Linked DNA regions of Homo sapiens: region 1 is linked to region 2. Evidence: promoter capture Hi-C in human tissues and cell types (Jung and others, 2019). All regions are on one chromosome and are shown on one strand. The core of a region is centred on a gene start or on the middle of the fragment in contact, and the rest is flanking DNA. Distances in the headings are between cores, read along the strand shown. Region 1 overlaps ARHGAP31 (Rho GTPase activating protein 31). Region 2 holds the start of PLA1A (phospholipase A1 member A).

Evidence for each region. The method cuts DNA at HindIII sites, captures the fragments that hold promoters and counts their contacts. A contact is called where the count stands out against the background at its distance.
Region 1: a contact is called between a fragment that was not itself captured here and the fragment with the promoter of PLA1A in region 2, in 1 of the 25 tissues and cell types used here (liver).

Annotation. Positions count from the first base shown.
Region 1 is chr3:119,333,054-119,335,753 of GRCh38, reverse strand. All of the region lies in intron 1 of ARHGAP31 (Rho GTPase activating protein 31), which reads right to left. Among named protein-coding and RNA genes, the nearest start is that of ARHGAP31-AS1, 12 kb to the right of the region's middle. The HindIII fragment of the contact is 5,793 bases long and covers 1-2,700 here.
Region 2 is chr3:119,596,482-119,599,181 of GRCh38, reverse strand. PLA1A (phospholipase A1 member A) reads right to left here and starts at 1,297. Exons shown (of 11, transcript NM_015900.4): 1 at 1,196-1,297. The coding sequence starts at 1,268. RefSeq lists an enhancer at 429-618. The HindIII fragment of the contact is 21,246 bases long and covers 1-2,700 here.

The sequences.
Region 1 (2,700 bases), core at 172-2,671, 260 kb after region 2:
CCAAAACCAGAACAACTCCTGACAGCTGTGGAGACACTGCCCCCAAGGCTATCTTACCTTGCAGCCACAGACCAATGCCCCTCCTCCTCAGAGTGCAGACCCCCACTGCTGTGTGGCTGCCACATACTCCTCTTCGCCTAACTGGGCCCCAAATCCCTGTGGAAGCCTGTGTTCTCCTCCCCAATACCATTCTCTTCCTATGTTTCTCACAGCGCCACTGGTTTCACCAAGGAGAACGCATTTCCACAGACATCCCCTGGCCTGCCCTGGCCTAGGGGCTCCTCAAAGTGTCTCCACTTTGAGGACCGGGGTTAGGGTTCTCCAAAACTTGGCTTGCGTCCTGGCAATGTCATAAATGGTGGTCAGTTCCTACAATGTGATAAGTGCTATTTTTAAAAAGACTTTATGTACATTATCTCCTGTGATTCTTGCACTTTTTAGAAGCTAGACATTATCTCAATTTTGATAAGACTGAGGCTCAGAGAGATTAAATAATTTGTCTCAAGTCACATAGCCAGTATGTGAAAGAACTACGATAGAAATCTATGGCTTCTGCTTCCCATGCCAGTTCAGTATTACATAGAGGAGTAGGCCACAGTGAAATTATAGTCTGCATAGACTTTTGTTGGCTGGGCTTAGAGCCTAACCACCATTTTAGATCTTTTTTTTTTCCCATGGGAAAATGAATTTCAAATTCTGAGCAATCAACATACAAGTGTTCTTCTACAGCATAACTCATTTTTAATTTGGAGACTATCTCCATTGTCTTCCTACTGAAGGGTTTCATTTCTATTGATTCCTTTATCTTACTGGTCAGGACCCAAAAGGAGGATTGAAAAGTAAAGGCTTTAGAGTCAGACTAGGGCCTACCACTTAATTGATGTGACCTCAAGCAAATTACTTAACTTCTCTGGGCCTCAGTTTCTTCCTTTGTAAAATAAGGGCAACATTACACATATAGGATTATTGTAAGAATTAAATGAATAATGCACGCTTGTAAAGTGCTTAGTGCAGTGCTTGGTGCAGAGTCAGCCTCCAATAAACGTGGACTTCGTTGTTCAATGGGAGAGTCAGGTTGACTACAACCTGGAACATATCCCTGCTGGCCAGGGATGGTCCTTGTTTATTCCTATCATGCAGATGAAATTATTAACAGCACTCCCTTCTACTCTTAAGGTGCCCCAACTTGGATGATAAGTTATATGGGTCACCCTACCTGAAGATGGGCCCAGAAGGCATGACTTCGAGGGGACCACAAAGCCCCAAGGCTGAAGCTCCCTAATCACAGGGAAATTTGGCCTTTGTCAAGAGCATCTCACCAGGGAGCTGAGAGCTACTATTTGGATGTTTCCAGAAGCAGCAGCTGGGTTCTCAGTGAGGGTCTGAAGCCAGGAAGAGAGGCTTCAGGGATAAGGGAGCCCAGCCAAAGGCACCAGCAGTCACGCAAGTGTCTGGTCCGACAGGAGCCCTGCCAAGGAGCCAGGCCAAAAGGACAGGGTGGGGGCTGGAGTGGGGGCCAAGACGGCAAGCCAAACAGGAGATGAGGGGGAGCCGGGAGATGAAGTATCAGGGACACCACTAAGGGAAGTCAGCAAGGTGCTGGAAGGGCAAGAGGTCTCACTGTGCCTGGGGGAAGGGGGTCCCTGGGCATCAGTCCCCCTCCAGGAGCCTATATTCCACTCTTCTTTGTCTTTAAAGGAGTTGAGGCACTGTCTAGGGCACATCTGGGTCATATCCTTCTCCAAGATGCTGTGCACATGTGCCAGGGTTGATAAGTGACTCTGAGACTGTTGGTGATAACAAAGACCAAACATAAAGCAGGCAATGTCATTTAAACCTCCCACCACATTTAATGAGCAGGATTGGCAGCTTATTTCAATTTTACTTCAGTACTTAACTTCTCACAAAGTAGCAGTCATAAAACACTTCTCATAATGAGGTGTAATAATTGAAAGCCCGAAGAACCAAGAGGCAGCATGGTGAAAAGAAAGGAATAAAACGGTGAGAGTCGGAACTAGGTTCTATCCTGCTTCTGTTCTGCCTCTTCCTGACTCTGAATTTTTAGGTAAGTCACTTCACCTCCCTGAGCTCACCTGTCAATGGAGGTAATAAGTGTTGGGAAGGAAAAGTGTGGGGAGGCACGGATTACAAAGGCTGCAGAGTGCTACACAAATCTAAGCTAGACATCTCTCTAATATGATAATAAAGTAGGACTTTCTAAAATAAACATTTATCACATGTATTAAGAAAAAAGCTCAGAAAAGACGAAATACTTTTAAAAAGAATATAGCTGGAGTAAACGTAATGAACAAATTCTAGTACTACAGCAAAATCAGAACAACTTCAGATACTAAAGAAATGCTCCTTTACACAGTGAGTAATATGCTAGTGGGAGCTGCTAACCTTGGCTCCTTCCAGAAATGTACAACAGTTAGAAAACATAAATATCTTCTCAAAAAGTTAGGATACATACACAGATAATAGGTTCATAGTGGAAAATTAATATTAATGAAAATTCAGAGTCCCTTTTTGAAGAAAGAGCAATATTTCTTTCCAACAAACATGCCTGGTTCAACCCAGAATGCTGGGTTGGGCTGTTTGGGTCCAGTATTTCCAACATATGGAACAAATAGCACCTTTGATGAGGGCAGCAAAATGCGATAGATGACGCATGGGCTCTGGGATCTGATGAGCCTGGGC
Region 2 (2,700 bases), core at 48-2,547:
AGCCACTTCCTCAAGGTCACATAGCTACAAAGAAACAGAGCCAGGATTCCAGTCTGGGTTAGCCCGACCCAGACAGAGCCTATTCCCCATCAGCTCAGCCCATTGCCTCCTCTAAGCATCAATGTCTGCAATATTCACTGGACATCTGCTCTATACAGAGCACAGCACTAACTATGCTAAAAGAGACAGAAGCCTCAAATCCTCACCTTTTAGGGACAACTAATTGAGGTAGGAGAAAGCACATACAGAGCTCAACAGCACCTCTGAAAAACCACCCATGAGTGCAAGGAGAGCATGCAGTCACCCAGTGGAACTTTGTAGCAGGGAGGGGTGCTGAGCAGAAAAAGAATGAGTACAAGGGAGATAGGAATACAGAAGCCCCCTTGAAAGATGCAAAGAACAGAAATCAATCCAAAGGTGATGTGAGCAACCCCAGGCAGAAGCAATGACATATTCTAGAGCCAGGGAATGAGAATTAAATGTCCAGCGGAGAAGACAGAAAAGCAGCCTGCTATTGTGAGTAGAGGGAGGGGATTTTTCTAAGGGTGACCTCACCATAGTGAGAAGGAGTCTTCTGAGAACTTCTGAGAACCCAAAGTAGAGCAGGTTAATTTTCTGTTAGGCAAGAGGGATCAGTGGGTCAGTTCTTTACTGGGGGAAAGGTAAATGCAAATTGGCATCTGAGGGAAGTTTTCCCAGGGGCATCTGAGGTTAGCAGGGACTAGTTCCCATCACCCAGCCAGGATGACAAACCACTTGAGTTAGGTTGCTGGATTAGAAAGGACATCTAACAATCTCAGTGACAAAATCATTATTAGTTTGGAAAACCTAAATTTTAAAATTAAATATATCTTGGAATGGTGGATATTTATGGGGTGAAAAATGAATATCTTAGAATTAACCAAATTTTATTTTCTTACAGTTGGTCCTGGCTTGTGCAAGGTGAGAAAGGGTTTTTTTATGTGGGCTTTAGAAAAATGAGTCGGATAACCAGGGAAAGTTCAGGTTTTGTGACCTGTTTACCATCATTCCGATTATGATAAAAGGGGTTTTTTTCCCCTACTGTTTTAAATTCACCTCAGAAGAGGCAAAAGGCTTTTAGGGGATCTTCCAAAAGTTAGTACTGCATAAGTAGTTGGAGAAATATGATCACTGACTGAAATAAGTTCCTCCCAAGGCCTGAGCCCTGGCTTACCTGAACTTCCAACGCTGAGCCACAAAATGAGGCCCCCCACCCAGAAGCAGCTCTCCCAGGGACCTGGGGGCATCGCTGAGCTGGAAATCTCAGAGCTGGTATGGAGTAATTCCCTAAAGCCAAAGAGATCATATAACCCAGCCTCTCAGAAAACACCCACGTGGATTTCACTAATCATTAACTAGCCTCATGACCTGAAAAGGAAAAATAAATTCTTCTTTATTTATTTAAATGCCAGAGTTTTCGGTTTCTTCTTCTCAATGAAAATAAATACACTTTCTTTTTTGTTAACCAGAGTGCATTGAAACACACTGTCCCTCTTTGAGCCAAACATGATCAGGAAACTATTTCCTGCACCTCTCCCACTTCCCGTGATAGGATGTTAGTAATAACCAAGGCAGAAGTCCTGCATCTCTGGGTGGCCAGAAACCCCTCATTGTGTTGGAATTATCTGTGGACATGTGTGTCTCCCTAGAAGATTCTGAGTGACTTGAGAGCAAAGGCTTTCTCTTTTCATTTTTGAATACCCAGTGCCTAGCACAAGACTGAGATAATACTATATATTAAGTGTCCATTTAAAGGGAAGAAGGGAAGAAAAAGTTTCCTCTGGAGAGTACTATCATTTTGTAGAATCTTGGGGCTAGGAGTCAAGTCCAACTTTGGAGATGTTCAACTTCCTGAATTCACAAAGAAACTGCATATTAGAAAAAGAAAATGACCTGTAGAGATCCCGTTGGTGGAAGTGGCAGAGCCGGGCCTGGAACCAAGATGGTTCCAGCACCATATGGCCTCTCCACCCCAAAGAGTGGCAGAAACCACAAAGAGCTATTTCTAGGCAAGTCAATGGGGCAGAGGCAGAGGGCAGGGCACTTGCCCCCCACTCCCTAAATCATAACACATTGCTGTGAGGTAGACAGCCCACTGGCAGGGCCAGGATCATCTTTTCCAAACAATAACTCTCTGAGGTGAGTATTATCACAGAGAAGTTAAGTAATTTGTACAACAAATTACTTATTTGTATTATAATTGTATACAAATTACTTAACTGTGACAATTACACAGTTAGTAAGCACAGATAAGTACAAATTACTTCTCTGTGATAGAAGTAATTTGTATTAAATACAAACATTTGTGTTTTACACAGCTGGTAGGGCACAGAGAATTTAAGTCATTTGCCTGAGGTCATGCAGAGCTGGGATTTAAAGCGGGATGAGCCAGCCCCAGAATCCATGCTCTGAGCAACGATACTCTACAGCAACAACTCCTGAAGAGGCTCTGGGACCATGTCATCATGGCTGAACGCAGGATACAATTATTTTGGAGGGGCTAGCCCTTACATCCCCTTGTGCACATGATCTCACTGCTCAAGTGCTGCTGCAACCAGGAAGGGGTGTGGCAATAAGTAGTGCACAGCAGAGGTCACTACTGAAAGCTGTCTTGATATTAGAGACCAAGCCAAGTGTATGAGTTCAGGTCCTCGGAGAAGAAGATGCCAAGGTAAGACA